4 separate regions of the Homo sapiens genome follow, and regions 1, 2 and 4 are each linked to region 3. Evidence: promoter capture Hi-C in 16 types of primary human blood cells and fetal thymus (Javierre and others, 2016). All regions are on one chromosome and are shown on one strand. Each heading gives the region's core, a stretch centred on a gene start or on the middle of the fragment in contact. The rest is flanking DNA. Distances are from core to core; before and after follow the strand shown.

Evidence for each region. Contacts are between HindIII fragments. The CHiCAGO score rates a contact against its expected background, and 5 or more counts as called.
Region 1: a fragment that was not itself captured here is called in contact with the fragment with the promoter of E2F2 in region 3 in 1 of 17 cell types (fetal thymus); the score reaches 5.0 in fetal thymus.
Region 2: a contact is called between a fragment that was not itself captured here and the fragment with the promoter of E2F2 in region 3, in 5 of 17 cell types (fetal thymus, naive B cells, erythroblasts and 2 more). The highest score is 6.0, in fetal thymus.
Region 4: a contact is called between a fragment that was not itself captured here and the fragment with the promoter of E2F2 in region 3, in 1 of 17 cell types (fetal thymus). The highest score is 6.6, in fetal thymus.

What each region holds. Positions count from the first base shown.
Region 1 is chr1:23,360,512-23,366,631 of GRCh38, reverse strand. ZNF436 (zinc finger protein 436) reads left to right here. Exons shown (of 4, transcript NM_001077195.2): 4 at 3,411-6,120. The coding sequence ends at 4,663. Among named protein-coding and RNA genes, the nearest start is that of ZNF436-AS1, 5.4 kb to the left of the region's middle. The HindIII fragment of the contact is 336 bases long and covers 4,026-4,361 here.
Region 2 is chr1:23,331,131-23,336,929 of GRCh38, reverse strand. It overlaps HNRNPR (heterogeneous nuclear ribonucleoprotein R), which reads left to right. Exons shown (of 11, transcript NM_005826.5): 5 at 3,299-3,412. Among named protein-coding and RNA genes, the nearest start is that of HNRNPR, 10 kb to the left of the region's middle. The HindIII fragment of the contact is 903 bases long and covers 1,464-2,366 here.
Region 3 is chr1:23,527,020-23,532,668 of GRCh38, reverse strand. It overlaps E2F2 (E2F transcription factor 2), which reads left to right and starts at 1,436. Exons shown (of 7, transcript NM_004091.4): 1 at 1,436-2,127. The coding sequence starts at 1,876. LOC101928163 (a long non-coding RNA gene) reads right to left here. Exons shown (of 3, transcript NR_110799.1): 2 at 5,599-5,649; 3 at 4,250-5,264. RefSeq lists silencers at 1,205-1,344, 1,882-2,030, 4,186-4,382 and an enhancer at 4,038-4,167. The HindIII fragment of the contact is 7,412 bases long and covers 33-5,649 here.
Region 4 is chr1:23,772,434-23,778,076 of GRCh38, reverse strand. All of the region lies in intron 1 of ELOA-AS1 (ELOA antisense RNA 1), which reads left to right. Among named protein-coding and RNA genes, the nearest start is that of ELOA-AS1, 3.0 kb to the left of the region's middle. RefSeq lists an enhancer at 1-935 and a silencer at 4,944-5,238. The HindIII fragment of the contact is 2,586 bases long and covers 1,596-4,181 here.

The DNA.
Region 1 (6,120 bases), core at 2,944-5,443, 170 kb after region 3:
GGCTTCAGAGCCCTAGCTTTGCCTCAAGTTCCTTAGCTGAGTAGATTCTCATCTAGAGATGTTTCAGTGTTGATGATGATAGATTTGTAGTGTGTCAAATGCTGTTCCAGAAGAATGCTGAAATAGATCACAAATTCTATTAGAGAGGGCAGCTGATTTTTTTTTCATGGTCTGCAAGCCTGTCTTCTCTCTTTGCTGTACTTTGGTCTGGGTGTAACTAGAATAAAGAGTATATTCTTGAGCTGAACGGTCTTTTGACTCACTTTGCCTCACTTTGCCTCCTGTCAAGACTTGACAGACATTAGCAAGCGTGTATGGGTCACTAGGTCATTTGCCATTCATTAGGATTAATCCTGTTTTTGAAATCTTTATTCCCATAGCCTTTTTCAGAACAAAAGGCAACTCTGAGGGCTTTCCTTTTTAACTTGAGCTTTCTCTGATGTCCCTAGTTTCTTGAATCCTTTCTTTATAAAAGTAACCATAAATAGTTATCTATCCAGATCTATTGCAGTCTGTAACCCAAATATTCCACTGAATCCAACAAAAGCAAAAAATGACAATCTTTAAAAAATGTGAATTTACAATTCTACAGTTTAGCCCCAAAAGCACTTGTTAGAAGGATGAAAGCGCCAAAAAACTGGTTTCTTGCCCAAATAAGTTTGGGAATGGGAATGGGTTTAAAAATGATTACAAGGCTTTTTTTTTTTTTTTTTTGAGACAGGATCTTGTTCTGTTGCCCAGGCTGGAGTGCAGTGGCACGATCACAACTCATTGCAGCCTTGACTTCCCAGGCCCAGGTCATCCTCCCATCTCAGCTTCCTGAGTAGCTGGGATCACAGATGCGTACCACCTTGCCCGGCTAATTCTTTTTATTTTTTAAAAAATTTTAAATTAATTAATTAATTAATTAATTTTTTTGAAACAGAGTCTCAGTCTGTTGCCCAGACTGGAGTGCAGTGGCCCAATCTTGGCTCACTGCAACCTCTGCCTCCTGAGTTCAAGCAATTCTCCTGCCTCAGCCTCCCGACTAGCTGTGATTACAGGTGCATGCCACCACGCTCAGCTAATTTTTGTATTTTTAGTGGAGACGGGGTTTCACCATGTTGGTCAGGCTGGTCTTGAACTCCTGACCTCAAGTGATCCGCCCACCTCGGCCTCCCAAAGTGCTAGGAATACAGGTGTCAGGCACCATGCTCAGCTTCTTTTTATTTTTTTATTATTTATTTATTTTTTTGTGAGATGGAGTCTTGCTCTGTTGCCCAGGCTGGAGTGCAGTGGCGCGATCTCAGCTCACTGCAAGCTCTGCCTCCCAGGTTCACGCCATTCTCCTGCCTTAGCCTCCTGAGTAGCTGGGACTACAGGTGCCCGCCACCACACTCGGCTAGTTTTTGCGTTTTTTTTTTTTAGAGATGGGGTTTCACCGTGTTAGCCAGGATGGTCTCGATCTCCTGACCTCGTGATCTGCCCACCTCGGCCTCCCAAAGTGCTGGGATTATAGACGTGAGCCACCGCGCCCGGCCTGCCTCTTTTTATTTTTAATAGAAGTGAGACCTCCCTATGTTGCACAGGCTGGTCTCAAACTCCTAGGCTCAAGTGATCCTCCTGCATCAGCCTCCCAAAGTGCTGGGATTAGAGGCCTGAGCTACTGCATCTGGCCTTATAAGGCCTTTTTACCTCAGGATTCCTTAGAACCTTTAATGTGTTATTAGGCATTGTGAATTTTGAAGGAAATGATATTGTATGTACCATTTACCAACCCAGTTTATCCATGAACCCTTTTCTCCCAAAATACATACTTTCTTTCTGAAGAGTGTACTAAGAAACCCAATTTGGAGAATGCAGTGTCTGGTATAAAACTCCTTGTAGACAGTGGTTGTGTATTTTGATTTTCATTTGAAGACTGCATGTGAAATATACTTAGACAATGCCAAGAATGTTCTCAGCCAGACATCTTTTTTGCCTTCTTCAACTTTCCCACTCCTATTTTCATTAAAAGGTCACTGAAAAGTAGGAAGTGACATTTGTCAGTCACTTTTCTGTCAACTATGACATAGGTAAAGATTCATTTTTCTCCATATTAACATAGTTGGTTCTGGCCAGGCACGGTGGCTCACGCCTGTAATCCTAGCAGTTTGGGAGGCTGAGGCGGGCAGATCACCTGAGATCAGGAGTTCAAGACCCGCCTGGCCAACATGGTAAAACCTGTCTCTACTAAAAATACAAGAAAATAGCTGGATGTGGTGGCGGGCACCTGTAATCCCAGCTACTCGGAAAGATGAGGCAGGAGAATCGCTTGAACCCAGGAGGCAGAGGTTACAGTGAGCGGAGATTGCGCCATTGCACTCCGGCCTGGGCAACAAGAGTGAAATTCCATCTCAAAAAACAAAACAAAACAAACAAACAAACAAAAACATAGTGGCTTCTTAGTAAATATTTTATGATGCTACTAATGATGAAGGCTTGGCAAGTTAAAAAATACATACTCACAAAATACCTAGAATCTTGCCTTTTAGATATTCTAATTTAGAGTCTCATATTTTCTGCTTCCAGTGTTCTTTCAAAACACGAATATATATAGTTTTTTTTTTAAGAGACAGGGTCTCGTTCTGTCACCCATATTGGTGTGCGGTGGCACAATCACAGCTTATTGCAGCCTTGAACTCCTGGGCTCAAGTGATCCTCTTACCTCAGCCTCCTGAGTAGCTGGGACTACAGTTGCATGCCACCACATCCACCTAATTTTTTAAATTTTTTTGTAGAGATGGGTTCTCCCTATATTGCCCAGGCTGGTCTTGAACTCCTGGCCTTAAGTGTTCCTCCTGACTTGGCCTCCTAAAGTGTTAGGATTACATGCGTGAGCCACGGCACCTGGCCTGTATAGTTTTCTTAATGAATCATTAATTACAGCGATACAGAATGTGAATTTTGACAGACCTGAGTTTGAATACTGGCTCTACCATTTACTATGGCCTTGAGCAAGTCAATTCACTTGTCTGGGTCTTGGATTTCTCATTAATGAAGTAGAAATAATCACAATTCCTGACTCTCAGAATAGCTGTGATAAAGAATATATGTGACGAAGAATATAAATAATTTAGGCTGGCCACAGTGGCTCAGAAGTTCAATACCAGCCTGACCAATATAGTGAAACCCTGTGTCTACTAAAAATAAAAAAATTAGCCGGGCATGGTGGCGTGCACCTGTAGTCCCAGCTACTCAGGAGGCTGAGACAGGAGAATTGCTTGAACCCAGGAGGCAGAGGTTGCAGTGAGCCAAGATCACACCACTGCACTCCAGCCAAGGCAACACAGTGAGACTCTGTCTAAAAAAAAAAAAAATTTAGTATAGTGCCTGGCACACAATAGGTAATTTTTGTACTTACTAGTCTTATTGTTTACTTTTTATTACAGATTTTGAGATCAGGAGTGAGAACGAGGTAAATCCCAAGCAAGAGATTAGTGAAGATGTACAATTTGGGACTACATCTGAAAGACCTGCTGAGAATGCTGAGGAAAATCCTGAAAGTGAAGAGGGCTTTGAAAGCGGAGATAGGTCAGAAAGACAATGGGGAGATTTAACAGCAGAAGAGTGGGTAAGCTATCCTCTCCAACCAGTCACTGATCTACTTGTCCACAAAGAAGTCCACACAGGCATCCGCTATCATATATGTTCTCATTGTGGAAAGGCCTTCAGTCAGATCTCAGACCTTAATCGACATCAGAAGACCCACACTGGAGACAGACCCTATAAATGTTATGAATGTGGAAAAGGCTTCAGTCGCAGCTCACACCTTATTCAGCATCAAAGAACACATACTGGGGAGAGGCCTTATGACTGTAACGAGTGTGGGAAAAGTTTTGGAAGAAGTTCTCACCTGATTCAGCATCAGACAATCCACACTGGAGAGAAGCCTCACAAATGTAATGAGTGTGGAAAAAGTTTCTGCCGTCTCTCTCACCTAATCCAACACCAAAGGACCCACAGTGGTGAGAAACCCTATGAGTGTGAGGAGTGTGGGAAAAGCTTCAGCCGGAGCTCTCACCTAGCTCAGCACCAGAGGACCCACACGGGTGAGAAACCTTATGAATGTAACGAATGTGGCCGAGGCTTCAGTGAGAGATCTGATCTCATCAAACACTATCGAGTCCACACAGGGGAGAGGCCCTACAAGTGTGATGAGTGTGGGAAGAATTTCAGTCAGAACTCCGACCTTGTGCGTCATCGCAGAGCCCACACGGGAGAGAAGCCATACCACTGTAACGAATGTGGGGAAAATTTCAGCCGCATCTCACACTTGGTTCAGCACCAGAGAACTCACACTGGAGAGAAGCCATATGAATGCAATGCTTGTGGGAAAAGCTTCAGCCGGAGCTCTCATCTCATCACACACCAGAAAATTCACACTGGAGAGAAGCCTTATGAGTGTAATGAGTGTTGGCGAAGCTTTGGTGAAAGGTCAGATCTAATTAAACATCAGAGAACCCACACAGGGGAGAAGCCCTACGAGTGTGTGCAGTGTGGGAAAGGTTTCACCCAGAGCTCCAACCTCATCACACATCAAAGAGTTCACACGGGAGAGAAACCTTATGAATGTACCGAATGTGAGAAGAGTTTCAGCAGGAGCTCAGCTCTTATTAAACATAAGAGAGTTCATACGGACTAAGCTGTAATTATGATGGCTGAGAAATGATTCATTTGAAGATACAATTTTATTTGATATCAATGAACGCCCTCAAGACTGAGCTGCTTTTATCATACTCTCCTAGTTGTGGGCCACGATTTAAACCATCAGAGATGACAAGCCATTTGAAATTCTGACCCTCAGCTTTGGGAATGTTATCTCCTCCAAAATGGTGATTTTTATTCACTCAATGGGTTACTTCATTAAAAGCAGCCCCACAAGTAACTGGAAATCTGAAGACCAGGGGACAAATGCTGGTGAATGCTTAGGCCTGGAAATGGAGTAAATCTTTCAATGTTATTTTCTCCCATCCTTGGCCCAAGGAACTATGCTAAGTGAAACGTGGGACTGTAATAGGGTGGTAATGGCTGCTTTGGAAAAAGGCAACTAGAGACTCTGCCTAAATTGCCACACCTATTCACACACCATAGTAGTTGGGCACACACATCTTCCCTTCCAAAGGGCTTTTTCCTTGAGTTGCTCATGCATTTGTATCTTTTCCATCTTCCTGAGGGCAAGATTTTGCACGATGAAGGCAATGATTGTAACTTTTCTCCTTCTCATTGTTTCTAATTAGCTCCTTTAAAGCTTGCATCTTTGTGAAGGCTAACTGAAGATACGGTTGGAAAGGAAAAATGAGACACAGGTTTGGGGACCAAGGACCCATCAATGATGGTGACTTTAGCAGAAGATGCCCACAGTTATTACTGCCATTAATCAGATTTATGAATTTTCTTTGGGGATCACTATAGGGAATATTGTATAGAAAATATCTTCAAGAAAAGATAGGACCATCAGTGACAGTTAAGTGTAAGGAGCAAGTGGAATTGAGTCCTTCAGGGAAGGAACCACAGAGTCCCTTCCCAAGGAATGTAGGTCGTTTCTGTGTTCTTTCCCTTCTAATCTTTAAGATCAACTCTTCCTATCCTGCTAACTCTAAGATTTGATAAGGGCCACATCCCAGTGTTTATCTTAGCTTGCATCAGGGCATGTGTATGTACAGTAATGTGTATTCCTGTGGTTTTTCTAATAGAAACTGAATTTACAGAGACTTAGCATGTTCTTGGGTGATGTGAGTCATGTGACAGAAGTACAGACATAACTCCAATGTGAGAAATGTCCTTTTTTCATTATGGAAAATAATTTAAACACTAGTGCTTTAGTGTGCACTCTCCTGTAAGGTCTGTCTTTGTACAGAGCTAAGCACTTGTTTGTATGTGTTTGTCAATTGTGGAAGATAATGACCAGACAAATAGGTCGATTGTCCTATTCTCAGAATGAATTATCTTCTATGGTAATGAAGAACTCTTTGGCTTAGTCAGAAGGAATTAACGAACCTCGGTAGGAATGTATTTCCATCCTCCCACCCTACAGATATAAGAGGTTAAAATAACAGTTCGCCCAATTTAAGCCCAGTAGTGTCAGTTTTCCTAATCTCA
Region 2 (5,799 bases), core at 666-3,165, 200 kb after region 3:
CCATGAACCATTATTATTATTACCATTTTATTACTTAGATAAACAGCTTTGAAAAGGTAAATATACAGCTTTTAATGAAAGACCAGTGAACCTAATTCCTTAGTTAAATGGATACTCGTGTCTTGCTGTAGTGACATACTTTTCTTTTTTTTTTTTTTTTTTGAGACAGAGTCTCACTCTGTGGCCCAGGCTGGAGTGCTGGAGTGCAGTAGCGCCATCTCAGCTCATCTCAGCTCACTTCAACCTCTGTCTCCTGGGTTCAAGCGATTCTCCTGCCTCAGCCTCCTGAGTAGCTGGGACTACAGGCGTGCGCCACCACATCCAGCTAATTTTTTTTTTTTTTTTTTTTTTTTTTTTTGAGACGGAGTCTCCCTCTGTCGCCCAGGCTGGAGTGCAGTGGCGCGATCTCAGCTCATTGCAAGGTCTGCCTCCTGGGTTCACGCCATTCTCCTGCCTCAGCCTCCTGAGCAGCTGGGACCACAGGTGCCTGCTACCATGCCCGGCTAATTTTTTTTTTCTTGTATTTTTAGTAGAGACAGGGTTTCACTATGTTAGCCAGGATGGTCTCAATCTCCTGACCTCATGATCCGCCCGCCTCGGCCTCCCAAAGTGCTGGGATTACAGGCGTGAGCCACCGTGCCTGGCTGCTAATTTTTTTTGTTTTTTGGTAGAGTCGGGGTTTCACTGTGTTAGCCAGGCTGGTCTCAAACTCCTGACCTTGGGGGATCTGCCTACCTCACCCTCCCCAAAGTGCTGGGATTACAGGTGTGAGCCACCATATCCGGCCTGTGATAGACTTTTTTTTTTTTTTTTGAGACGGAGTCTCGCTCTGTCGCCCAGGCTGGAGTGCAGTGGCGGGATCTCGGCTCACTGCAAGCTCCGCCTCCCGGGTTCACGCCATTCTCCTCCCTCAGCCTCCCGAGTAGCTGGGACTACAGGCGCCCGCCACTACGCCCGGCTAATTTTTTGTATTTTTAGTAGAGACGGGGTTTCACCATTTTAGCCGGGATGGTCTCGATCTCCTGACCTCGTGATCCGCCCGCCTCAGCCTCCCAAAGTGCTGGGATTACAGGCGTGAGCCACCGCGCCCGGCTGTGATAGACTTTTTAATTAGAAATAGTTATTGTATGTTGAAGTTATTTCTATTATTATTACATTGTAATATGTAATGAAATAATTATACAACTCACCATAATGTAGAATCAGTGGGATCCCTGAGCTTGTTTTCCTGCAACTAGATGGTGCCATCTGGGCATACTGGTAGATGGTGACAGATCTTCAAGCATTAGATTCTCATAAGGAGCATGCAACCTAGATCCCTTGTATGCACACTTCACAATAGGATTCACCCTCCTGTGAGAACCTAATGCGGCTGCTGATCTGACAGGAGGTGGAGCTCACAGCTCAGGCAGTAATGCCAATGATAGGGAGGATGAGGAGCGGCTGTAAATACAGATGAAGCTTTGTTCTCACTTGCCCGCTATTTACCTCCTGCTATGCAGCCCGGTTCCTAACAGGCCATGGACCAGTACGGGTCTGTGGCCCAGGGGTGTGGGGACCCCTGTTTTATATTACATTTATGGCTCTGTTTCAGTCAAAGGTAGAAGAATGGAAGGCCGAAGGCATGCATCCCTGTGAAATCCTAGTGTTCACTGAACTTGATGATATCTAAAGTCTCTTATTGTTCTGACATTGTGTAATTTTAAAAACCTGGCTGGGCTCTGTGGCTCACGCCTGTAATCCCAGCACTTTGGGAGGCTGAGGCGGGTGGATCACGAGGTCAGGAGATCGAGACCATCCTGGCTAACAACGGTGAGGCCACCTGTCTACTAAAAATACAAAAAATTAGCCGGGTGTGGTGGCAGGCGCCTGTAGTCCCAGCTACTTGGGAGGCTGAGGCAGGAGAATGGCGTGAACCCGGGAGGCGGAGCTTGCAGTGAGCCAAGATCGCGCCACTGCACTCCAGCCTGAGCGACAGAGCGAGACTCCGTCTCAAAAAAAAAAAACCAAAAAAACTGAAGTGTAAATTTCTCTTTTCTAGGTAGATTGTGTTTCTTTGTTTACCATTGTATCTTTTCTTCTCTAAGCTCTTTATATAGATGTTGCCTCAATTATAACATAAATTCCTGAGAGCAAGGAGATTATCTTCTTTTCTATGATTGCTCTTAATACCTAATAGAATGTAAGGAAGGTTGGTAATCAGGAAACACAAGATTTTACTTATTTTTCGGAACCTGACTATACTTATTTGGTAATTGCCAAATATTTTTAGTCTGTACTGTATGATTCTTGTCTGATTACCTGATTCTTGTGGAGCTTATGATATGGCAGGAGTACAAACCAGAAGGATCAAACAAAATCAAGCTTAAATGATGGAACTTTAAGTACACTAGAGGCTGGGTATGGTGGCTCATTCCTGTAATCCCAGCACTTTGGGAGGCCAAGTCGGGTGGATCACGAGATCAGGAGATTGAGACCATCCTGGCTAACACGGTGAAACCCTGTCTTTACTAAAAATACAAAAAATTAGCCGGGCGTTGTGGCGGGTGCCTGTAGTCCCAGCTGCTCGGGAGGCTGAGGCAGGAAAAGGGCGTGAACCTGGGAGGCGGAGCTTGCAGTGAGCCGAGATCGCGCTACTGCACTCCAGCCTGGGTGACACAGCGAGACTCCGTCTCAAAAAAAAAAAAAAAAAAAAGTACACTAGAAAGACAGTGGGGGCTGGGCACAGTGGCTCACACCTGTACTCCTAGCACTTTGGGAGGCCAAGACAGGCGGATCTCATGAGGCCAGGAGTTCCTGACCAGCCTGGCCAACATGGTGAAACCCCATCTCTACTAAAAATACAAAAATTAGCTGGGCGTGGTGGCACATGCCTGTAATCCCAGCTACTTGGGAGGCTGAGACAAGAGAATCTCTTAGACCCGGGAGGCAGAGGTTGCAGTGAGCCGAGACGATGCCACTGCACTCCAGCCTGGGCAACAGAGCAAGACTCCATCTCAAAAAAAAAGAAGAAAAGACAGTAGGGAGAAATGGATGTGAGTAATAGTAAATGAGAGAAGCTGCATGAAGGAGGTAAGACTTGTGCTAATTTTTTTAAGGATAGAGAACATTTTATTTGAAAAGACTCACCAGTAGAAACATGTATGGGGAACCAGTGCGAATTTTGACTTTTTTTTTTACCTAACCATAAAAATATATCTCCTAGGAAGTTGGAGTCCTTTTTGGAAAAGATTAATACACTGATGCTTGTGTGTGAGATTTAGTACTCAAGTATAAAGAGATGTATAATTATCTCTAGGCCTTGCTTGAGAGAACTGGTTATACTCTGGATGTAACCACAGGACAGAGGAAGTATGGTGGTCCTCCACCAGACAGTGTGTACTCTGGCGTGCAACCTGGAATTGGAACGGAGGTAAGTGTTCTTTAGCAGTTTACCAAGATCTTTCCAGTTTGGAAAGTGTTTTATCTACTATGCAGATACTGTACAGACGGGGGAAAATTCTTGATCCCTTTCAAAGTGTAGCTGTTGTTAGTTTTTAGATATCCATTTGTATTTTGCTGCCATCATGAGGATGGATAATCTTGTGACTGGTAGATACCCGAACACTTTATATAGGAATATAATATAGAGTTTTTGGAACAGGTTGCTAAAACCATGCTACTAGCAGCACACCATTTTAGATACTTGGAGTAAAGTTATTTGGAAGACGCAATTGCTTTATTCTGTCTTTTTTTTTCCCCTCCCCTGAGATGGAGTTTCGCTCTTGTTGTCCAGGCTGGAGTGCAGTGACACGGTCTCAGCAAACTGCAACCTCGGCCTCCTGGGTTCAAGTGATTCTCCTGCCTCAGCCTCCTGAGTAGCTGGGATTACAGGTGCGTGCCACCACACCTGGCTAATTTTGTATTTTAGTGGAGACGGGGTTTCACCATGTTGGTCAGGCTGGTCTCGAACTCCTGACCTCAAGTTATCCACCCACCTTGGTCTCCCAAAGTGCTGGGATTACAGGCGTTAGCCTCCACACCCGGCTGCTTTTTTTGGTTTTTGCTTTTTGGGGATTGTTTTTGTTTCTGTAGAGACCAGGTCTCACTGTGTTGCCCAGGCTGGTCTTGAACTGCTGGCCTTGGCTTCCCAAAGTGCTGGGATTACAGGCATGAGCCACAGTGCCCAACCAAGTTTTTTTGTTTTTGTTTTGTTTTTTTTTTGGTTTGGTTTTGTTTTTTTTTTTTTGAGATGGAATTTTTGCTCTTGTTGCCTAGGCTGGAGTGCAATGGTGCAATCTCGGCTCACTGCAACCTCCACCTCCTAAGTTCAAGCGATTCTCCTGCCTCAGCCTCCCAAGTAACTGGGATTACTGGCATGCACCACCACACCTGGCTAATTTTTTGTATTTACTAAAGAGGATTTCACCATGTTGGTCAGGCTGGTCTTGAACTCATGACCTCAGGTGATCCACCTGCCTTGACTTCCCAAAGTGCTGGGATTACAGGCGTGAGCCACCGCGCCTGGCCAAGTTTTTTTTTTTTTAATATCAATAATTTAGAACTGTGCTTGTCCTCTCCCTTGCCTCACCTATCACTCAGAAGGGACTTAGTATTTATGGAGAGATATTATTGATGGGCGTGGATTGCACAAGGGAAGGATGTGGAATCAGATAAAAGATTGAGTATGTTAGTCCATACTTGAACAAAGAAGCAATTCTTTCCCCATCTGTCTTCTTAAAGCTTTTTCCATTTGCCTTATTGCTAGCCTGTTCTATTCCTTCCTTCTCTTCTCCTCCCCTCTCCCCTCTCCCCTCTCTCCATTCAGTCTCGCTCTGTCGCCCAGGCTGGAGTGCAGTGGTGGGATCTCAGCCCACTGCAACCTCTGCCTCGCAGGTTCAAGCGATTCTCCTGCCTTAACCTCCCGAGTAGCTGGGACTACAGATGCCTGCCACCACGCCTGGCTAATTTTTCTATTTGTAGTGGAGACGGGGTTGCGCCAAGTTGGCCAGGCGGGTCATGAACTCCTGCTCATCCTTCAAATGGAGAAAACTGTGTGCTGAAAAGTAACCTGTTACACCAGGGACCTTTTTTTTTTTTTTTTTTTTTTTTTTTTAAAGAAACAGTCTCACTGTCACCCAGACTGGAGTTTAGTGGTGTGATCATAGCACACTGCAGCCTCAGACTCCTCCTGGCTCAAGCAGCCCTCCTGCCTCAGCCTCCCCAGTAGCTGGGACTATGGACTCATGCCACCAAACCCAGCTATTTTGTGTTTTGCTCTTGTTGCCCAGGCTGGAGTGTAATGGTGCAATTTCGTCTCACTGCAACCTCTGCCTCCCGGGTTCAAGCGATTCTCCTACCTCAGCCTCAGTAGCTGGGATTACAGGCATCCGCCGCCACACCTGGCTAATTTTGTAGTTTTGGTATTTTTAGTAGAGGAGGGGTTTCTCCATGTTGGTCAGGCTGGTCTCGAACTCCTGACATCAGGTGATCTGCCTGCCTCGGCCTCCCAAAGTGAAGCCCAGCTATTTTTTTTTTTTTTTTTAATTTTTTGTGGAGATGGAGTCTCCCTGTGTTGCCCAACTGGTCTCCAACTCATGGGCTGAAGTGATCTTCCCACTTTGGTCTCCCAAAATGCTGGGATTACAGGCGTGAGTCACCATGTCTGGCCTAATAAACTCGGAGATAACCAATTCGAAACAAATAGTTGATATGTTAATTGTAAAACACATACGCATTCTCTTAGATTGCATTGTTCCTTTAGGAGAAAGATGCATTCTTCTGTATGTTAAATGTTGTTGTATACAGCAAATATGATTC
Region 3 (5,649 bases), core at 187-2,686:
CTCCTTATGATCCAGGTTCTGTGATGAAAGCTTTATATGCATTATCTCATGAGATTTCCTCATGATCATATGAGGTAAGTGCTATTAGGAGGAGAAAATCAAGGATCAAGGATCAGAGAATTTACAAAATTTGCCTTGGTCACACAATGAATAATAAAGTGTCTGGGCCTGGGTTTGAATTCGGGGCTGTTGGCTACAAAGCCTGGGCTCTTAATCATCATGGGTTATTGCCACCTTGGCCTCAACCATCTAATGAGGAATTAAGCTGTGGACTGTCTCTGGAGGGCTTTGAATGCCAAGGCTCAGACTTGCATAAAAATCACACAGCACCAGGCAAGAAATCAGACCTGAAATCTAGCAGCAGCTTCTAGCAACTTTTTACCACTCACTACCCAAGTTTGCTTCTCTGAGCCTCTCTAAACCGGAGTGATGAGGAATGTATTATCAGCAATGAAGGTTTTTGAATGAGGCAGAGAGGCTCTTGTGACAAAAGGATTGTTTAAAAGAAACCTAGAGATGTTCAAACATTTACTGAGTATTGGGTCCTAATAATACAACTGTGAACAAGACAAAGCTCTGCAGTGGGACTCTGACCCTGCTGTGCCCCCAGGCAGCTTGGGAGAGTAGAAGAACCCCTTAACTGGAAAAACAAGGGCTCCAGAGCTGGGACCTGTCCCAGATTCTGTTGCCAGCTCTCAAATCAGGGAATCTCTCTGTATGACCTTGGGCAAGTTACCCAGCCTTTCAGACTGTCAGTCTTTATCATGGGGATCATCATTCCTCTTCCCAGGATTGTTGGAATAAATTAACTAAAACAACGCTTGTAAGGATCTAGCATGGTGCCTGGCATCCTGTAGGCGCTGAATAGATGTTAGTTTTCCCTACAAAGAAGTAGACTAGTTTGCCTCCGTCCCTCACCCCTCTGCCATTAAAGGGAACAGGTTCCTGGCCTTCATTTTAGCAGGAAAGGGGATATGAATGCACATGTGCTAGCTAAGCAACAATGCAAACTAACAAAAGGGCCTGTGGCCTGGGGAATACACTGCTGGGTCTGGGCTCAGGCTGGGACCCCGCGCCAAAATGTTTCCCTTCAATCCCAGGGAATCCGGGCCCATTTCTCGGGGCGCTGTGCACTGCTCTGGCCGCCTCTGCACTGTGAATCCCGGAACCACCCTCTGTCTCCGTCTCGCCGGCTGCTAACTAGCGCGGCCGGCGGCTGGCGGCACCAACAGCAGGTGTGGCTGCCCCTTTAAGCAGCGAAGCTAGTGTTGCAATCGCCGCCTCGAGGACGCGTTCTTTCCGGGGGGGGGGGGGGGGGTGGAGCCTGTACTGTCGCAGCAGCCAACCGGAGCGCGGCATTTTCCGCGGGAGATCCGAATTTCGCGGCACGACGTTTGGCGCTAAAAAAAAAAAAAAAAGAAGAAAAAAAAGAGGCAGAGAAAGACTCAAGGACTAGAGAGCGAGCCGCAAGGAAGTCGGTGCAGTCGAGACCCCCCTCCCCATCCCAGCGCATCGCGTCTCCGCCGAGCTTGAGGGCACGCCGGGGACCCCTCCCCAGAGCCGGCCGGACCCCAGGTGCCGAGGCCTTGGGGAGCGCGGGGCGTCCCGGGTCGCGGTGCCCTCGGGACGAGACAGCCCCTGGCAGTGCCACCACCGCAGCCGCCGGGCGATCTCCAAGCGGCGATCTCTAAGCGCTGCTCTCTGCTCGGCCGCGGGCCAGGAGGGGAGGGTCCGGCCTTGCCCCGCAGGCGTCCATTGGCGGCTTCCCCCGGCCTCCGCGCCATGCCGCGGGCCGTGTGAAAGGCGGCAGCACCGGAACCCGCAGGTGTCCGCGGGCGCGCCAAGCCCTTTTGGGTAGGGGGCGCCTTACTCGCTATGCTGCAAGGGCCCCGGGCCTTGGCTTCGGCCGCTGGGCAGACCCCGAAGGTGGTGCCCGCGATGAGCCCCACAGAGCTGTGGCCATCCGGCCTCAGCAGCCCCCAGCTCTGCCCAGCTACTGCTACCTACTACACACCGCTGTACCCGCAGACGGCGCCTCCCGCAGCGGCGCCAGGCACCTGCCTCGACGCCACTCCCCACGGACCCGAGGGCCAAGTTGTGCGATGCCTGCCGGCAGGCCGGCTGCCGGTAATGCTGGGGGCCCCCACCGCTTCCCCCTATGCTTTTCCAGGTGTGGGAAAGGAGGGAGGGGTGCCTGAGATCCAGTTTGAGTGGAGCAGGTAGAGTTTTGGGAAGAGGGAAGATGAGCTTTCAGTTTCCAGGACCCAGTGCCCCCAATATCTGAGTAGAAGACCCCTTCATTTTCAGACTTTGGATGAAATAATCTCATCCATTCTAGTGGAGTGGAATGAGCACTGGATTGCGAGTCTGGAGGGAGACCCAACTCACTACTCCCAGTGCACTGTGTGACCTTGGGGAAGTCCATGCAGCCAGCGTTGCCGCCATTCATTCATTACTTCATTGTTTGGCCAGAAACCAGTACTGGGTGCCTGCTATTGTCCAGGCAAAGAGTATGGCCTGGGGACACTGTGGGACTTTGGTAAGACAGAGGGATAGGTCTAGTGGGTCTCTCACATCCAATCTGCCATGGACAGACTCCAAATTGTCCAGCCAGCTCCTGAGATAGCCCCAAGTATCTGCCCTAGGTCCTCCCCCAGGCCCAGTCTTCCCTCCCAGACAGCCATGTAGCAGATACAAATGTGGGCAGCCCCCTTGGGTTCTGTTCAGATTGGCTGCTCTCTCCTCAAGCTCCCAGGCTCGTTGCCAGAGAGGGCCCAAAGTGTAGTGGCACCAGGCTGCCTGCTGACCTGGGCTCAGGGTGTGTTTTGTGGGAGTGGAATTCCTGGAGCCCGTGTGAATCAAAACAACTTTAGGGTGGGGGGTGGAGTGGGAAAAGCCTGGGGGAGTGGAGGTGGTGGTGGTTGAGGAGCCTGGTTTCTGGTGTGACTCTGCCACTAATTCTCTGTGTGTCCTTGGACAAGTCTTGGACCCAGTCTGGGCTTCAGTGTTCTCTCCTTCACAATGCGTGTGTGCACAGGGTGGCTGTGGGGCTAGCTCTTCTCAGCCACATTCAGCTCCAGGTCCTGGGTTTTGGAAGCAGGCTCCAGGGAGAGGAAGGGGGTGTTGTAGGTTTGCTTAGTTGTGAGTTTGGTGAATAAGTTCGGGTACAGGGATAAGACCACCCCCCACTGCCCCAGAGGCATCTGGTCAGACCTGTGCTAGTCAGCAAGCACGGATGCCCAGCCAGCTCTGGATGCAGGCAGAGCCACCACTCCCTGCCAGTGGACTCAGGCTTTGCCCATGTTCAAAACGTTAACCTTCCTGGAGACCCTTCCTGCACATGATTTCTAACTAGGAGGGCAGTGGGCAGGAATGGTATTATCCCCATTTTACAGGTTAAGCAACCGAGGATAACTGGGATTGGGTATCTTGTGTTCAGTGTTTTATAGCCTAAAACATCTTTGTAGTTCGTGAAATAGATGGCATTAATAGCTCCATGTTACAGGGGGAAACTGAGGCTCAGAGAGGGGATGTGACCTAAGGTCAGAGATGGGGATGGGGTAGAGTGATGGGACTCACAAGGCAGTCAGCTCTTCTGTCTTTTATTTTTTATTTTTTGTAGAGACAGGGGTCTCCCTATGTTCCCCAGGCTGGTCTCAAACTCCTGGGCTCAAGCAATCCTCTTGCCTCAGCCTCCCAAAGTGCTGGGATTACAGGCATGAGCTAGCTACTCTAATGCACCTGGTCAGGCAGCAGGCTCTTCTCTATGTAGCCTTGACTTTTTTTAATACTGCCTAACTTAGGAGCTGAGCTCCCCCCAGGGAAGGGAGCTTTGCGGCAGGCCCACTCTCCTCTGGCCAGCTGCTTTCAGACTGGAAGTTTCAGTAACAGCTGTGGTTTTACACTGCTTTGAACCCTCCCAGAGGAGCCCAAGTACATCTGTCTGTACCTCCCTCCCAGAAGGGCTCAGTGATCTTAGCAAGAAGGTCTCTCTTTTACTGAGTGCCTCTCGTGTGCCAGACACTGCTTGGCACTCTTCACGTTCATTATCTTGGTCAGGATGTCCAGAATGAGGCACCTTGCAGATAAGGAAACTGAGCAAAGAAAGGAAGTCACTTGCCTGGGTCACAAGTGAAGAAGCAGGGGAGTCTCCTTGCAGCAGACCACCCTAAAGCCCTGCCAGGCCCAGAGCTCCCGCTCCTGTCAATCCCCAGATGCCCGGGGCCCAGCCCCGTGGGCAGGCCTGCCCTCTGCTTACTCATTTTACAAGGGCGTGACCTGGAACAGCTCCAAACCCAACCCTGGGTGTGGCCGCTTGCTTTGTGGCCGGGCTGCAAAGTGCAGGGTGAGCAGGATTTGTTGTGGAGCTTCTGTTTAAAGGGACCTCAGGCACTGTCCAAGGATGGCAACCAAGTTCAATGGCAGAATGAAGGCCACAACCCAGATCTCCTGGCTCCCTGTCCAGAGCTCTTTCCAAGTCCTCTGAGGAAGGCTCAGGGAATGCCCCTTTATCGCATGCCTCCTCTGGCCAGGCGCATGGCATCATTCTCTTTCACGCCTGCAGGAAGCTCTGCCCAGGCTGGCTTGCAATAGCGCCATCTCTGCTCACTGCAAACTCCACCTCCCAGGTTCAAATGATTCTCCTGTCTCAGCCTCCCAAGTAGCTGGGATTACTTTTTGTATTTTTAGTAGAGATGGGGTTTCACCATGTTGGCCAGGCTAGCTTCGAACTCCTGACCTCAGGTGATCCACCCGCCTTGGCCTCCCAAAGTGCTGGGATTACAAGCGTGAGCCACCACGCCCGGTCCTCCTTTTCTTTCAATTTGTCTACATTTTCCAGATTTCCTCTTGTGAGGCATGAAAGAAAATAAACATTTTAACACACAACTCTACAAGGCAGGTCAGGTGAGGAGGTGTAGGCTCAGAGAGGCAAGACAGTGAATCCCAGGCTGTTCAGCTACGAAGTGGCAGAGCTGGGATCTGAAAGCAAGGTTCGACCCCTTACATTTGCTCCTACCCCCACCATCTGACTTAGGGCTTAGGAGAGACCAGGCTCCACTCTGCGTGACCTTGGGCAAGTCAATTCCTCTTCCCCAAGTCCCAGTTTCCTCACCGTGGTGCCCGTAAGGGGGTTGTGCCTGGTGATCTCTGACCCTCTGCACTTCTGCAGCTGCCTGAGGAAGGAGCTGTACTCTTCTCCATAGGGGTTGGCAGGGTGGGCTTGCGTCCTGACCAGGCCTTGAAGATCCAGCCAAAGGGGCTGCCTAAGAGCGTCCAGGATAGGGCTAAGCTGGCCTCTGGCTGTGGCCATAGCCTTTGCTCTCCTCCCCTCATCGCAGTCTCTTTTCAGCTCACCCTTGAACTTTCCCCTTTTCCCACTGGTGCTCCCCATACATCAGTGCTAGCAGCTCCCTGGTGGGGGCACTCCCTATGGGCAAAGCGCTTTGCTGCACTATCTCACTGAATCCTCAGCATAGGTGGAGACAATGATGCCCATTTTATAGGTGACTTGACGTCAACTGATTTCCCAGCTAAGAAGGGGAAGGCCTAGATGCAAAGCCAGGCCAGTCTGACTCCAAGACCTGTGCTCAGCCTCACCTTGATGCTGATCCTCCTGGGCTTGTCCTCTGCCACCTGTGTTCTGCAGGT
Region 4 (5,643 bases), core at 1,639-4,138, 240 kb before region 3:
GATAAGGCCCTGGAGACTGGAGAACGCGAGCTTATCGCTGTCTCACATGCGCACGGCTTAGACGTTGAGAGCTCACAGGCCCACTTGCATAACCACTTTCTTGATAGCGGGGTTACAGCTTGAGAGCATGGGGCTTTGTGCACGGCCAGACCTAAAGACTACTCCTGGGTCTGCTACTGGCCATTGTGACACCTTAAGTCATTTCCCCTATTCTGAGACTCCGTTTCCCCGTCTGTAAGGTGGAAAGAATAGTATCTGTTTCATAGGATCACAGTGAGTATTAAATGAAATAATGCAATTAAAGAACTCAGCAGGCCGGGCGCGGTGGCTCACGCCTGTAATCCCAGCACTTTGGGAGGCCGAGGCGGGCGGATCACGAGGTCAAAAGATCGAGACCATCCTAGCCAACATGATGAAACCCCGTCTCTACTAAAAATACAAAAATTAGCTAGGCGTGGTGGCGCGAGCCTGTAGTCCCAGCTACTCGGGAGGCTGAAGCAGGAGAATCGCTTGAACCCGGGAGGCAGAGGTTGCAGTGAGCCGACATCGCGCCACTGCACTCCAGCCTGGCGACAGAGCAAGACTCTGTCTCAAAAAGAAAAAAAAAGAAAAAACTCAGCAAATGGCTGACACATGATGGGCATTCAGTAGCCGATGGTTATTACGGTCAAATCCAACCACAGCAACTTACTAGCTGCGTGGCCTTGGGCAAGTGACTTGATCTTCTGAGACTCAGTTTACCCCCTGTGAAGTGAAGGGATTGGACTAGATGATCTCTGCGTTTCCTCCCCCATGTGATATTTCAAAGTACTTTTTTTCGAACAGCTGGTTGTGGCCTGTCAATAGGTTTTAAAATCCGTTTATAGAGAATTGTGATCAACATTTAAAAAAAAAATAGAATACAAAAAAAAAAAAACCCAGAATGTATCACACATTTCAAGTCTCAATTGATGAAACTTTTGTTTCAGTTTTGAGTTTGTATTCAGACACAATATGATGTGTTTTTCATATTGTGGGTTGAGATCAAAATAATTAAAAGTCACTGTTTAGAGGTGAAATAATCTTGTTTTCAGGATAGAATGTTTTCCTACTCCCTGGTGGGGAAAAGACAGGATACAGAAAGAGAGTTATGGGATACCCTGGCTACCCTCTTCCCTTCACATCTGGCTCTGGAGTGCTCAGTGGGGCTGGTGAAGTATAGACCAAAATATCCATTTTTTCAAGTTCCATTCAGAAATATTTTCTGGGCCACATGCAGTGCCTCATGCCTGTAATCTCAGCACTTTTGGGAGGCCAAGGTGGGAGGATCACTTGAGCCCAGGAGTTTGAGACTAGCCTGGGCAACATAGGGAGACCCCATCTTTACAAAAATAATTAAAAATATTAGCCCAGCATGGTGGCTCATGCCTGTGGTCCCAGCTATTTGGGAGGCTGAAGTGGAAGGATCTCCTGAGCCTGGGAGGGTGAGGCTGTAGTGAGCTGTAATCATACCACTGCACTCCAACCTGGGTGTCAGAGCAAGACTGTCTCAAAAAAATAAAAACAAGAAAAATATTTTGATGTCCTATTTTAGTTACTTGTGCAATAAGCAAGCTTGGTTCTGTTTCAAAATAGCTCAGTGCCGTGAATTATTCCTGCTTTTAGGTCACAGTTTCAGGTAAGGGACCTGGAATGTGGCAAACAGTAAATGTTTACTTGACTGATATACTTGGTAGCCTTTCTTTGGTAAGAGTGTCCTTTTGAAGAACCAACTCAGGCCTTACCCCGGAGATCTACTCATTTTGGCTTTTTCCTGTTGCCTTCATTAATGATTTATTTGAGCACTGTGTGCTAAGCACATTATGTAGTTCATCTCAATTAATTGTCACATGAACTTTAAGAGCTAGGTACAGCCAGGTGTGGTGGCTCACACCTGTAACACTTTGGGAGGCCGAGGCGGGTAGATCACTTGAGGTCAGGAGTTTGAGACCAGCCTGGCCAGCATGGTGAAACCCCGTCTCTACTAAAAATAGAAAAATTAGCCAGGCATCGTAGCGTGTGCCTGTAATCCCAGCTACTCGGGAGGCTGAGGCAGGAGAATCGCTTGAACCCAGGAGGCAGAGGTTGCAGTGAGCCGAGATTGTGCCACTGCACTCCAGCCTGAGCGACAGAGCGAGACTCCATCTCAAAAAAAAAAAAAAGAGAGCTAGGTGCTATTACCTACTGTTATCTCCAATTTGAAGATGAGGAAAACTGAGGCTGAAAGAGGCAAACTAACTTGTCTGAGACTAGGTAAAGTTAGGAGGTAACCAGGCTTTGAACACATCCTGTAGTGTTCTTGTAACACATCAGTAGTTTCCTGGTTAGGGTGGGGAGGTTGAGGCGGGAGGTGCACACAAAGTAAATATGCTGTATCAATTAGCTTATGCTGTGTAACAGATTACCCTAAAACTTTGATAGCTTTAAACAACAAACATTGATTAATTCGCATGATCCTGTGGATTAGCTTTTCTGGGCCAGTTCAGCTTGGGCTGGAAAGTTTGGGATGGTCTCACTCTCGTCTGCTTGATGCTGGCTGTTAGCTGGGATGATGGGACCACGTGTCTCCAGCAGACAAGCCTAGCTAAATTACATGGTGATAATTGCAGAGTTCCCAGGAGCAAGAGAGGGCAAGACTCAATTGCACAAGCACTTTTTTTTTTTTTTTTTTTTTTGAGATGGAGTCTTGCTCTGTCACCTAAGCTGGAGTGCAGTGGCACAATCTCCGCTCACTGCAACCTCCCCCTCCCGGGTTCAAGCGATTCTCCTGCCTCAGCCTTCCGAGTAGCTGGGATTACAGGCGCCTGCCACCACGCCTGGCTAATTTTTGTATTTTTAGTAGAGATGGGGTTTCACCATGTTGGGCAGGCTGGTCTCAAACTTCTGACCTCAGGTGATCTGCCCACCTCGGCCTCCCAAAGTGCTAGGATTACAGGCATGAGCCACTGCGCCCTGCCAGCACAAGCACTTTTTAAGCCTTACATCTATAATCTTTCTATAATGACCCATCAGCCAAATCCAAATTCTAGAGTGGAGAGCTAGACTGTAGACTTCACCTCCTGATTGGAAGAACTGCAAAATACTGTGGCTCCTCCCCTCCCAGTAGGTCTGTATTAGTTGTCTTTTGTTGTGTAACAAATTATTCCCAAACTTAATGGCTTAAAACTGTAGCAGGACAAGCTGCAGATAAAACCTGTCAGACACCAGGTTAAAGAAGGAAGAGACTTTATTCGGCCAGGAGCGTTGGCAGAGTTGTGTCTCAAGAACCAAGCTCTCCAAAGAAAAAGTTCCTGGCCCTTTTAAGGGCTTATAACTCTAAGGGGGTCCACGTGAAAGGGTTGTGATAGATTGAGCAAGTGATCTATAGGTAACACATGTGGTTAGGGTGGGGGCGTTAATCTTTAACCTCAGGCCTGGTAAGTGGCATCAGTTGGTCTTGCCACTGACTTCATTCCTGTTGTTTTTCAGCTTTTACTTCTTCCTTCTCTTCAGAGACAGTAAGAGAAATGGCCTCTCTCCTCAAAACAACAATTAACATTTATCATCTCACAGTTTCTGTGAGTTAGGAATTTGAGAGCGTCCTAGCTGGGTGGTTCTGGCTTGGGGTCTCTCATGAGCCTGAAATCATATGAAGGCTTGGCCAGGGCTGGAGAAGCCCCGGCTGGCAAGTTTGTGCAGGCTCTTGGCAGGAGGCCCCAGTTCCTTAACACATGGACCTCTCAATAGTACTGTTTGAGTGTCCTCATGATACAGCAGCTGGTTTTCAGCAGAACAAGTGATCTAAGGGCAAGGTAGAAACCACCAATGTCTTTTATGACCTAGCCACAGAAGTCCCATATTGTCAATTTTGCAACATCCCATGGTTTCACAGGTCAGCCATATTCAGTGTGTGCGGGAACTTCATAAGAGTGCAGATACCAGGAGGTAGAAATCATTAGAGGCCACCTTAGTGGCTGGCTACCATGCTGCCATACATGTTAAGTGGCACTGAAAATGGCTTTATTCTACTGTACTTAATTAGTAGTTTGGCTGTGGATAGAATTCTTTCATAATTGTGAAGAAATTGCTCTGGTTTTCTTCTGGCTTTGATAAATACAATGCTGTTCTGAATCCTGATTCTTTTTATGGGTTTTCCCCCCACCCCACCCCGTTTTCTGGAAGCTTTTAAGATCTTCTCTTGGTATTCTAGAATGTGATGATTTTTGTTGTGCTTTGGTCTCTTTTGTCATTCATTGTGCTGGATACCTGAGGGACCTTTTCAATTTAGAACCCCTAGAACAAAGTGTGAGCACACAGGTTAGGACCTCTGCATGCGTGGACACAAGGCCCTTCCAGGCACACAGATTTAGAGATATGGAGAGAATGGGGCAGGGCTAGGGTCCTGTTCTCTGCCTCTCACCACCTTCTAGTACAGAACTCTGAGAGGCCCAAAAATGTGAATGTGGTCTTCCAGGTCATTGTGAAGGTTTATTTATTGACATAGCAGAATAGATTGTCTTTTATTTAATAGTTCATTAGGGTCATTTATAACTTTTTAAGTATGCATTCAGCTGTATTCTTGCTCCTGTCCTGCAAATATTAGGTTTGGCCTGCTAGGCAAATTGCTTAACCTCTCTAGGTCTCAGATTTTTTTCTTTTTTCTTTTTATTTATTTATTTTTCTAGGCCTCAGATTTGTCTTACATAAAATGGGAATCATAACAGTACCTATGTTGTGGAGTGCTATGACAGTAATGTGAAATAACACATGAAAGTGTTTGGTATAACATCTGGTCCACAGGGAAAGGCTATTACTGTAGCCGCCCCCCTCCCCTGCCCCTGACTCGGTTTTGCTTTCTGTGGTTTCAGTTACATGCAGTCAACCACTGTCCAAAAATATTAAATGGAAATTTTCAGAAATAAACCATCTGTAAATTTTAAATTGCATGCTGTCCTGAGTAGCGTGATGAAGTCTTGTGCTGTCCCGCTCTGTCCACCTGGGGAACCTGAATCGTCCCTTTGTCTAGTGCCTCCACGCTGTATACACTCCCTGTTCGTTAGTCACTTACTAAGTAAGTGCCCTGTTCGTTATCGGATCGACTGCCGTGATATTGCAATGCTTGTGTTCAAGTCACCCTTATTTGACTTAATAATGGCCCCAAAGTGCAAGAGTAGTCATGCTAGCAATTTGGATATGGCAAAGAGAAGCCATAAAGTTCTTTCTTTAAATGAAAAGGTAAAAGTTATAATAAGGAAAGAAAAAATAAAGTGTGCTGAGGTCGCTAAGATCTGTAGTAAGAACGAATCTTCTATCTGTGAAATTATGAAGAAGGAAAAAGAAATACCTGCTAGTTTTGCTGCCACACATGAAACTGCAAAAGTTATGAGCACAGTGCCTGATAACTGTATTACATCATATTGCTATAATTGTTCCATTTTATTATTAGTTGTTTAATCTCATCGTGCCTAATTTATAAATTAAATGTAATCATAGGTATGTATGTATAGAAAAAAGCATAGTACTGTATATATAGCGTTCAGTACTATTTCAGTCATCCCCTGAGGGTCTTGGAACATATCGCCCACAGATAAGGGGGGACTGCGGATAATCCCCAGTTTATGGTGGTTCGACTTATGACTTTGTGAC